2 separate regions of the Homo sapiens genome follow, and region 1 is linked to region 2. The links are contacts of gene promoters, found by promoter capture Hi-C in blood cells and fetal thymus (Javierre and others, 2016). All regions are on one chromosome and are shown on one strand. Each heading gives the region's core, a stretch centred on a gene start or on the middle of the fragment in contact. The rest is flanking DNA. Distances are from core to core; before and after follow the strand shown.

Region 1 (5,711 bases), core at 2,211-4,710, 690 kb after region 2:
ATCATATACAGGACTGAAATCTGCCCTGAGTGTCCAGATCTGGACACCAAATAGATTAGTCATTAATTGTATAGTGGTTAACAGCATGGGCTTTGGAGCCAAACCCCTTGAATTCCAATTCTTACCATGCTACTTACTGGCTCTATAACCGTGGACAAATTACTTAACCTTATGGGGATCATTATTAAGATTAAATGAATTAATACATACATGTAAAGATATAATTATGATCTTCTCCTCCTAGTTTGATAAAGAATACCAGAATCTAAGAATATCCTATAGGCCGGGCACAATGCCTCATGCCTGTAATCCCAGCACTTTGGGAGGCCAAGGTGGGTGGATTGCCTGAGGTCAGGAGTTTGAGACCAGCCTGACCAACAAGGTGAAACCCCCGTCTCTACTAAAAATACAAAAAAAATTAGCTGGGCATGGTGGCGGGCACCTGTAATCCCAGCTACTTGGGAGGCTGAGGCAGGAGAGTCACTTGAACCCAGGAGGCAGAGGTTGCAGTGAGCCAAGATCGCATCATTGCACTCCAGCCTGGGCAACAAGAGTGAAACTCTGGCTCAAAAAATACATATATAAATAAAAAGAATATCCTATAAAAGTATTAAAACAGCACTTTTAAGTAAAACTCACACTTCCCTCCATTTAAGTCCTCCTATAAAGTAATATATCTATACATATTTCAGTGGGAGGGTCAGTACTTATGAAAACAAATACATACAAGTAGTTTAAAGGATAGTTTTAATATGAGTAAATGCACTTTTATGCTCAACTATTTTATACTCCAGTGACACTGCAGACCTCCCAAATTCTCTCTAGTTAAAATGAGATAACTCAGAAGTTAATACAGCCTCTACATAAGACCTTTCACCACCAAATATTTTAAGATTCTGCCAAGCATCAGGCCATAGTTATAGAATGTTTTAACTTAATGAAATTGTAGGGTATAATCTCTACAGAATGGGCCTCAAGCCTAACTAAGTGATCTCCAAAAATATGCCAACCCCTTTATCCCCCCACACCATTATGGACCAAACAATTACAGTTCCATTGACCCTCATAGCTTACTGAAGTTATATGAAAGAACGGAAAGATGTGGGTCACATTCCAATAATCAATTGTGTGACCTAACCAAAAGGACCTATTCGCTCAGTCTCACGTCCTCCACCTGTAGAGATACCTATGCTGTGACATACTGAAAGAATTAAAGGAGAGGGTGAATGAAATGTCCCCTCTATGCCCACTAGCACATGGCACTTCTCAATTCATGTTCATTTCTCCTTCTTTATTTGAAGTGGTGAAAGAAATCAGAAGCAATTTAAGACTTTTCACAGCACTGTTTGATCTCATTTCTTAATATTTTTGACAAAAACCATCTACAGGTTAAGCTGTGGAATCTCAACATAAATGCACATTTTTAGTGTTCCTTCAGCTTTACTTCAAAACCACTACGGGAATTAAAATACGGTAGGAATAATCTTCTGACAGAATAGGAATGACATAACTTTTAGAATAAATGCCCACTTCAGAGTAAATAAGAAGATAAAGGAGGTATCATCATAAGTTGATGAGAATCCTATGATCACTACCACTTTCTGGAAGTAGCTCCCAGAAATATTAAAATCTAGTAATTTTAATTGACTCAAACATCATTTTTAGTAAACATTCTGGTATCCAAAAGCATGAGACTAAACAATGATATTGAAAAGATTAATATTATTTGGAAATGTATTCCACAACTAATTTATTCTGGGCCTACCTGCAGGGATAGTCGTCCCAAAATTAAACGTTCTATAGGTACAAAGTAATTTTAAAACTGGATGTTTTAATTTCAAAACTTATAAATTTTCTGAGCCAAAGCATTCTCTTCCATGTATAGAACTAGGGTTTTAACCAAATACTTGGTTGAAAGCTGTACAAATCCAAACATAATTGAAGTCTTGATTCTGCCACTTTCAAGAGTGGGTGGTACAGATTCTTCTCATTCATAACATTAGTTTCTAGCTGATGTGGTTCGTTATTCAAAGAACACTTAACAGTCCTTCATAAAATGGTAGATTCAGTCTAAGGACTAAGAGTAGAACATTCTGGAATAACAATAACGTTTACAAACACCACTTACCATTTGGTCCTAGGTTTTCATAAAAAATTGATATAGGCAGCAGATGTATACAGAACACCCTAGTTGAGGCCAGTTTAAGTGTAAAATACCCACATACTCAAAGCCTAAGAACAATTTACTTAAGACAAAACAATGTTGGAGAAATTGCCCAATATCACAAATGTAGCAGTCACCCCTAAACAGTGTTTTTGATTAATGACAACCAATTTCCTTCAATCTTAAAGGCAACCAATTCAAGCCAGTAGGTTAAATCCTTGAAGTATACTGCAATGCTACTCCTTTTTTCCAGGGAATCAGATGAGAATTTTGTGCTAAGAACTTATCAGGAAAATGGAAGTAACGAAAATTAACACGCCAAAATATGAGTATAAGAAATATAAGCCTCCTTAATAATCAGCCAAGAAAAAAATAATCAGGTTATGTCTCCTCCCACCCATTCTTTCTGTCTTAACCTTCTGCAAAAGCCGGCTGGATTCAGAGTAGAAATAAACGAATTTTACAATGAGTCGAGTACCACCAAAAATCAAAAGTGGGAGCTTACTCGTCCTCCAGGTCTGACCCGCCTCCAGCCCGAGGCCACCAAAAGACACACCTCCCTTCCCCCAACCCGCCACAGCCGGCTCTACAGGTAACAGGCGTTTCTTCTCGCGCAGTTTGAACAAAAACAATCCAGAAGGAACAGATTTGGTTTTTTAAAAAAAATGAACAAAAGCCAAAAAAGCCACAAACACAACCTAAACCTTCTAAGAAGCTCGACTACTCCCGTTCTGCACGTTCCTTCCCAGAAGGATGCAGACCCCCGGTGTCGGCGGGAACCAGGAAGCTCTTGGGGCCTCCCTGGGCCAGACCTGCACCCGGGAAGCCGCCGCAAGGCTTCAGGAGCCCCAGGTCGCCCCAAGGCCGCGCCGCAGGATTGAACAAAGCGGCGGGTGCAGCAACCTCGGCGCTTCCGAGCGCGTTCGGGGCCGGACGCCCGGCGTCCGGCGCTGGCTCCAGAAAGGCGGCGGGTGTGGGGCGCAGAGGCCTATCTCGCGCCCTAGCCGCGGCCCGCGCCCCGCCGCAGTCCCCGGGGACGGTACTCACACACGCAGAGCTCCACCACGTACGCGTAGTAGGACCAGACGACCACGAAGGTGATGAAGAGCACCGGCACCCAGCCCACGACGCGCTGGCAGCAGCGCCACAGCGTCCAGGGCGCCATGTTCCGCTGGCGGCTGCCGAGCCCCGCGTCCCACCGTTCTGGGGAGCGCGGGAGCCCCGGCGACGGTGACTCGGACGCTCCAGGCGGCTGCTGGTCCAGCTCCCCCGCCTCCGAGGCAGGACTTGTGGGAGCAAAAGTCCGAGGCGCCGCCGGGACTCCTCCCGTCCCGGCGCCCAGCCAGGCCCCGCCCCCACCCCACATCCCGTCGCCCCCCTCCCCCCGCGTCCGTCCCCGCCAGCCCGCCCGCCGCGGGCCGCGGGCCGCCCCCGGTCTCCGCGTCGTTGGGGCGGGGTTTCCGCGGCCGGGGAGGCGGTGAGGGGGCGGGGCCGCAGCTCGGGACCGCCCATGGGGCGTGGCGGGGCTGGATGCGGACAGGCTGGGCGGACGCGGGAGGCCGGGGAAGGAGAGGCGAAAAACACGCCCTTGATGGATGAGAGGGACAGGGGATAGCTTTTGTGGATCGAGACTCAATAGGGGAGGGAGACTATGGAAATGATTCCTTAGCTGATTTGTGGATCTTGGCCCTCTCTGTGTACAGAACTCGCTCCACTGGGGTTCCTGGGACATTGAGTAGTTGGGGCACTGTTTCAAACATGACAAGGCCATTCCCCACTCAGTGTGCGAAGAATGCACATTGTTAGAAGGCTCCTCCTGTGATTTTTATGTTCGTCCATCTTGGCGGAACCCCTCCCTTTCTTGAAGATGGAACGGTAGATACCTGTAATTTCGGGTAGAAGCCATGTAGGGTCCATCAGTTTGATTCGTAACCCAAATTTAAGATTGAGTAGCGAGAAGGAAAGGGCATGTAAATGACCCTCTCCTTGCCCCGCAAACGACTAAGGAAATTTAAAGAATTTATTTACAACTAGAGGTTGCTAAGCAATGACGATAATCATATAGAACCCAGAAGCATCACTGTGAAGACTTCACAATGCAAGGTCAGACGCATTAGAAGGGATTCCAGACCGCAATCTTCATACCAGTTCCTGCTACTAGCATTCAGTTTTGGTTAGAATGAATTTTTGTGTTTGTTTTTTGAAACAGGGTCTTCTCGCTCTGTCGCCCAAGCTGGAGTGCAGTGGCACGACCTGGGCTCATTTAAGCCTCGACCTCCCTGCTAAAGCACTCCTCCTGCTTCAGCCTGCAGAGTAGCAGGGACTACAGGCCCGCCACCATGCCCAGCTGATGTTTGTATTTTCTGTAAAAACTAGGTTTCGCCCTGTTGCCATGCTGGCCCTGAACTCCAAGGCTCAAGGAATCCCAACCCCTCTCCGCCTCCACCTCCCAAAGAAGTGCTGAGATTACAGGTGTGAGCCACCACGACCGGCCTACACTGAGCTTTAAATTAGCTACTGCTCACTAAAGTCTCCATGAAGAAGACGTCACCCTTTGCTGTGTCAGAGAAATGTAGTAAAAGCGAGTAAGTATTTAATCACTGCACACTGCTGCTTGAGTAATAAAGCATGTATAAAAGATTCTGTTCTCCCTGATTTTGTGCCTTAAAAGTCATATTAGTTAGTGGCCTAGTTGACAGTAGGTTTAGGTTCAAGTTCAACTAGTTTTCCAGAGAGGCTGCTTAGGAGGGTTAGACCTCAACATAGAATTCGGATGGACATGGAAGAACATAAAGCCGTTTCTCCTCTATGTCATCTCTACGTACCAAAACCATGCTGCTAGAGCTCAGCACAAAGCCATGTCCTTTACAAGCTCCAGGGCTGCTAGAAATGATCTTTCACGACATTTTGTTTATAACCTAACTATAAAACTGTCACATTCGTTTCCTAGGGTGACTATAACAAAGTACCACAAAACTGGGGAATAATAGAAATTGGTTGTCTCACAGTTTAGGAGGGTAGGTGTCCCAAATCAAAGTGTTGGCAAGGATATTGGATATGGTTTGGATGTTTGTCCCCTCCAAATCCCATGTTGAAATGTGATCCCAGTGTTGGAGGTGGGACCTGGTGGGAGGTATTGGATCATTAGGGTGGATCCCTCATGAATGGTTTAGTGCCATCCCCTTGGATGAGGGGTTCTTTCTCTAGTAGTTCACATGAGATCTGGTTATTTAAAAGAGCCTGATCCTTCCCCCACTCTCTCTCTTGCCCCCTCTCTTGCCATGTGACATGCTGGCTCCCCTTTGCCTTCTGCCGAGAAGGCAGAAGTCTATCTCTGTGGTCCTGTGTCTTCAGAGATAAGGATGTTCCTTTGTCTGGGTAGAGGGAGGGCACCTCTTGAATAACAGTCTTAGGTCTGCCTTCAGGGGAAGGCCTGAGACGCTTTTGCTAGTGCTATGGCCTGCTTCAGGGGAGAAGAGCGAGAGGAAGGTGAGAGGGACCTTCCTGTTGCTGTTGTCTCCAATGTTGTCTCCAACTGATGATTGGA
Region 2 (6,219 bases), core at 2,976-5,475:
TTCAACATAAAAATTACAAGGCACACAAAGAAACAGGAAAGTACAGCCCATTCAAAGGAAAAAAAAAATAAAAGAGAAACCATCCCTGAGAAAGACTAGATGGTGGGCCTCATAGACAAAGACTTTAAAATAACTATCTTAAAGATTCTCAGATAACTAAAGAAAGGTGTAGAGAAAGTGAGGAAAATGACATATGAACAAAATGGAAATATAAATAGAGAGACAGAAAACATAAAAGGAGACTAAGTAGAAATTCTGGAGCTGAAAAATACAATAATGAAATGAAAAACTAACTAGAGGAATTAAAAGCAGTTTTGAGCAGGCAGAAGAGAATCAGCAAGCATGAATATAGGAAAATGAAATAAATACATACAATGGAATATGATTCCCTTGGAAAAGAAGGAAATTCTGATATATGCTACAATGTGGATAAACCTTCAGGACATTATGCTACGTGAAATAAGCCAGTCATTTAAAAAAATACTGCATAACTCCATTTATATGAAGTATCTAGAGTAGTCAAAATCAGAGAGGCAGAAAGTAGAATTGTGGTTGCTAGGGGCTGGGGGGAGGGGAGAATAGGGTTTAATGGGTGTACTGTTCAGTTTTATAAGATGAAAAGTGATGGATTATCTACTTTTAAGGTTTTTATACTTAGAACTAAAAATAATTTCAGTCAACACGGGGTTGTCTATAGAAGTCCCACCAAAGAATGGTACAAATGCTTGAAATGAATAGTTCTAGTTTACTGCAATAAGCATAAGCACAAAAACACATTTTCAGGAAAGCATACCAGAACCCAACAGGCCGGAAAATTTCCAAGTAAAAATTCCAAAGATTAGCTTGTGTGCATGCTGAACTGAGAAAACATGGCAAAATGATCTGCAAACAACTAAAAGGTTTCAATTTGGTATTTCAGAACTGTGAGTTCTTTTCATTCAGGAGAAAAATCAGGCAACTAGTAAAAGCCAATATTGCCTGGCAAAATCGAAGAGTACAAGTTCCTTAAAAAAGGCTGCACCACAATACTGCCTAGAACTGAAAGAAAAATAAAAGTGTGTTTGTGTGTGTATATGAGTGTGTCCATATACATATGCAGACACATACATACACACATATGCATATATATTTATCCTTGACATATAAATTTTTTTTTTTTTTTGAGACAGGGTTTCACTCTGCTGCCCAGGCTGGAGTGCAGTGGTGCGATTGTGGCTCCCTGCAGCCTCAAATTCCCCAGCTCAAGCAATTACCCCAGCTCAGCCTCCTGAGTAGCTGGGACTACAGATGCACACTACCATGTCCAGCTAATTTTTGTAGAGACGGGGGTCTCGTCATGTTGCCCAGGCTGGTCCTGAACTCCTCGATTCAAGTGATCTACCCACCTTGTTCTCCCAAAGTGCTAAGATTACAAACATGAGCCATTATGCCCAGCCAATTCCATTTTTATTAGTACTTTCCACAGCTGCGTCACTGAAGAAGGGCTTTTAAATAACAGCCTGTAACTTGTTAATCACTTAGAAATAAAACATGAAAACCAAAAAGGAACCAGTTGACTATAAATGCAAAACAAGGAATTCCAAAGAGCAATTTAATAAAATTGTCGCCTTTCATAGCTGTAAAAGGCAATTAAATTCCAATCTATATAAGAATTTGATCCCAAAATGAAAGTATAAAGAGTACCAAATCCATTCCTTTGATAATCATTTTCTACCCTGTAGAAAGCACTGTTCTTGGTGATGAGTCTCAAAGTCCTTATTCTCTTGGAGCTTACATTCTAGAGAGGAAAAGACAGACTAAAACAATACATATGAAATAAATGTTAGATGACAATAAGATTAATGGAGGAACACATGGAGAGCATAGGGGGCTGCAATTTTAGGAATCGTAGAAGTTTCCTACATTGTTAAAGTGAGTTCAAAAGTGCATCACTTCTTCTAATGAGGAAAACTGAAATCTGTTAGCAAGATAAACATCAAAGATTAAATGAAATGGCCGGGAGTGGTGGCTCACGCCTGTAATCCAAGCACTTTGGGAGATCGAGGCGGGCAGATCACCTTAGGTAAAGAATTCGGGATCAGCCTGGCCAACATGGTGAAACCCTGTCTCTACTAAAAATACAAAAATTACCCAGGTGTGGTGGCAGGCACCTATAGCGCCAGCTACTCAGGAGGCTGAGACAGGAGAATCGCTTGAACCCAGGAGATGGAGGTTGCAGTCAGCTGAGATCTCGCCATTGCACTCCAGCCTGAATGACAGGAGTGAGACTACATTTCAAAAAAAAAAAATTAAATTAAATGAACCTATTTTTAACTATTTTTTAAATCACTATTTTATCATATCTTTATTGTTTTTAAAATTTCTAAGGGGGTTTATGAGATTTTTCAAATCCAAAAGAGCTGGGAAGTACTGTGTTATATTATTATTATTTTTAAATTTTTTCTGGCTACTCTGGGCACACTGTCTATGGCTGGCCCTGCCCCACAAGTGGCAGTAAAAAAAATTTTTTTCTTTAGATTTTAAAACTTGTACCTATGGATTATATTGAAATTATATTATTATTAAGCTGACCTTGGACCTTATGTGGCTCAGACTCTAAATCAGCAGTTCTCACAGAATGAGGAGCCCTTTTGTCGCTAAGGGGAACATCTGGCAATGCCTAGAGACATTTTTGGTTGCCGTAAATGGGAAGGAGGGTGCTACTGGCATCAGGTGGGTAGAGGCTGCTGAACTTAAAATTCACAGGACAGCCCTCCACATTAAAGAAGTATCCCGCCCTACAAGCTGCAGTTGAGAAATTCTAGGTTAGGCAGACACATGGCGAACACCAACGGTAAGGTGGAGGCCCTCTATAGAGAAGCACCATTCACGCCATGGGATCAGAGTGGAGGGCCTGAGTGGGGAGAGGAGTGAAAGAGCAGGTGGAGCTTCAACTCGGCCTCAGGAAAAGGTAAGGATGAAGAGTGAAGACTTCAGAAAGATGGAACAGCATGAGCAAAGGGGCGGACACGTTAGCTTGCAGCATAAGCAGGGATTAGCTGGCTTCTCAGGGGCTGTGGTTAGTCTCTTTTTGGATAAAATTACTCAATTTCCATGTTATCAAATTTACTTAGGGCAAAACCACCATACTGTAATTTCAACATTCATTCTTGTGTGAAATTAGGTTAAGATAGTGTGATTCAGAGCAAAGAGCATTAACCTAGGAGCCATCCCAGACTCCAGTAAACCGCAGGAGAGCAAGGCTCCCTCTATGAATGGGTAAGGCCTAGATATTCTCCAAATACTTTTTATAAATTGCTGGATGATTCTCCCCTTAATCCAATTTACGTCCAGAAAAGGGCCAAAGGTTTTCATTCTGTTTTCATCTTTGAGTCCCCCTGCCTCAAACAGTTCCTTCCTTCTTGCTTTCCAGAATTCTATTTATCCTGTTTTTAAATTAACTTTAAAAAGGAGGTAATGCTTACAATGAAATGCAGGTCGTACGTGTGCAGTGCGACGTTGTGATGTACGCCCCATGTAACCACAACCCCTATAAGGAAGGCCTTCCTGTCTGACATGTGGCTCCCTCCCGGTAGGGACCCGCTATCGTCCCAGCACTTCTTCTGCACCTCCGAAGCTACTGCCCGTTTCGCAGTAAAGCCGCCCGCGTCCTAGTCTACTCCACCTCGCAGCACCCGCATCCTGCAAGGGACCTGCCTCAGAAGCCCCAGCGACAGGCGCCGCGGGTGCCCGCCCTCCAGGAGCGGACAGTCAGGCCTGGGCATTTCGCAAACTCCATCAGCGAACTTCTGAGGGCAAAGATGAAAAGGACAGCAGGCCGAGTCCTGTTTCTACTCGGAGGGAAGGGAGGCCTCCACGCGCTGCCGTAGCCTGGGGGTTAATTTCCCCGTCAGCACCAAGGCTGCCTAAGGCCCGGGCGCCAACGTGCGCGGCACAGGACGCGGCGCCTTCCGGCGACCGGGACGCGAGGCCCAACAGCGCCTAACACAGCAACCAGGATCCACTCTCAGGCCGGCGCCAGCTCCTTCCCTCAGGAATCCGCCAGCCACTGCTAATTAAACTCTTCCACCACTACCACCCTGGAAAAAAGGTGAGAAACAAACACACAAAAGGCACCTAACCCAGTCCAAAACGCCTCGGCGGCGCGCAGCCAACCCTACAGCTGCGCCCGAACCCGCCACTCACCAGCCGCGCGTGCGCAGTCGCCCAGACTCGCCGTGTGCAGTGGGAGTGGCTAGCCAGTCTCGCTAGCGCAGGCGCAGGCCCTCCCGCCCAGGCCCTTGCGCAAGGCAGGCCATCTCCCCGCAGCGTCTCAATCCCGCGTTTACAACACTGAGGGCCGTCTCCAGCCTGGAGTCGTTCCTTCGCTTGTCTCATCAGCCGCCCCCAAGAATGGTAGCAAAAAAACAACAACAACAAAAAAAATGAAGGCCCTGGCAGGGCGCGGTGGCTCACGCCTGTAATCCCAACACTTTGGGAGGCCGAGGCGGGCGGATCACCTGAGGTCAGGAGTTCGAGACCAGCCTTACCAACATGGTGAAACCTCGTCTCTACTAAAAAATACAAAAATTAGCTGGCCGTGGTCGCGTGCGCCTGTAATCCCAGCTACCCAGGAGGCTGAGGCAGGAGACTCGCTGGAACCCGGGAGGCAGAGGCTACAATGAGCCGAGATCGCACCACAGCTACTCCAGCCTGGGCGACAGAGCAAGGCAACATCTAAAAAAAAAAAAATTAAGATCCTAATTAAAGTTAAACCCACTATTTTGCACTGAGTCACGTAGATTTTCAAAGTCAAGGCTTCATTGGTCGATTGTCTGCTCAGTCTTTTTAAATCAAATCGTTGACTTTAAATGTTGACATCAAATTGAGGCTTTGGTAAAATTGACAGGATTGGCGGTAGCGGGGGGGAACCTTTAAAACTTGTTAGTCTTTCAGAGTCTTCAGTTTTGAATGAGTTGGTCAATATATGTATTTAGACATCAAGCGCCGTAAGTATGTATGATTTTTGTCAACAACACCTTAATTATCTTGCACATACAGGCACTGATTATTGAAAGGTTCCCTTACGTTTTAGCAGCTACCAAATTATAAGTGATACAAAGTATTTGTTTCCAATTCCCCAAGAAATCAATCTGTATTATGCTTCTACCCTCTCTTTCCTCCATTTTCTTTACCAATTTCATGATCTTGCTAAATTTTATATATTCTGCTGAGCAATGTGAAAATCCTTTCTGGTATAAGGTAAGGATATAAACTGTTCAGCTGGCAAATGATGCTATTCAGTAAGTAGTTAATGAAACAGGTTTATAACATTGGGTGTACTATAATTTCTATTTTAAGAACTGTTTCCAGTTTATAATAACCCATGCTACATTTTGACTTTGTTTTGAATTGATGACAAGTCTATTAACCAAATATTTCAAGATCAGGTGTATTCTGGAAAAGGAACAGGAAGAAAATATATTTAAAAAACTAAAAGAAATTTAACACAAACTGAGAAACAATAACCAACTTTTATGAGTGCATTTTTTATGGAGGTGGTGTTCAGTAAATAAGACTGCCCTAGCTTATAACTACTTTAACAGAAGTTTACATTCAGTCAAATTGAGTCTGAAACAGTAGATCATTTTCTTTCAAAGCTGACATTGCTTTAATAGCATGTAAGACATGTTATCTTCATGTATTTTACTATATACTATTTTTACTATGAAAGTGACCACAGATGTCAGAGTTTTTTGTACCTTCACTAGACCTGATTGCTCAGACAGCATGAGAGTAATACAGTAAGATTCATATTTTCCTGGTGAAACCTATGCACTGTAATTTAATGGTTTTTGCAAATCATAAACATGTAAAATATCAAAGGAGTACTTATTCTCATTAAAGGGGAAATTACTTGTCCAGTTAAATTGGATATGAAGGATGTCTTCAATTCAGGAATTATTCCTTTTGTGTATTCACCAGTGATTTTTGTTCGTCTTGCTTCTCTTCAGAAATGGTGTAAAAAAGAAAGTAAACCAGACTTGGGACCAGGTGCAGGGCTCACGCCAGTACTTTGGGAGGCCAAGGTGGGCAGATCACCTGAGGTCAGGAGTTTGAGACCAGCCTGGTCAACATGGCGGAACTCCATCTCTACTAAAAATACAAAAATTAGCCCGGTGTGGTGGCACACGCCTGTATTCCCAGCTACCTGGGAGGCTGAGGCAGGAGAATCGCTTA

What was found. Contacts are between HindIII fragments. The CHiCAGO score rates a contact against its expected background, and 5 or more counts as called.
Region 1: the fragment with the promoter of ZDHHC20 here is called in contact with the fragment with the promoter of EEF1AKMT1 in region 2 in 7 of 17 cell types (monocytes, naive B cells, neutrophils and 4 more); the score reaches 10.9 in monocytes.

The regions. Positions count from the first base shown.
Region 1 is chr13:21,455,843-21,461,553 of GRCh38, forward strand. ZDHHC20 (zDHHC palmitoyltransferase 20) reads right to left here and starts at 3,461. Exons shown (of 13, transcript NM_001330059.2): 1 at 3,212-3,461. The coding sequence starts at 3,329. It overlaps LOC124903131 (a long non-coding RNA gene), which reads left to right and starts at 3,705. Exons shown (of 2, transcript XR_007063713.1): 1 at 3,705-4,337; 2 at 4,541-4,804. RefSeq lists a silencer at 3,374-3,753, an enhancer at 3,617-3,786 and a cis regulatory region at 3,702. The HindIII fragment of the contact is 7,258 bases long and covers 1-5,711 here.
Region 2 is chr13:20,769,736-20,775,954 of GRCh38, forward strand. It overlaps EEF1AKMT1 (EEF1A lysine methyltransferase 1), which reads right to left and starts at 4,226. Exons shown (of 5, transcript NM_001318939.2): 1 at 4,186-4,226. RefSeq lists an enhancer at 3,581-3,800. The HindIII fragment of the contact is 12,884 bases long and covers 1-6,219 here.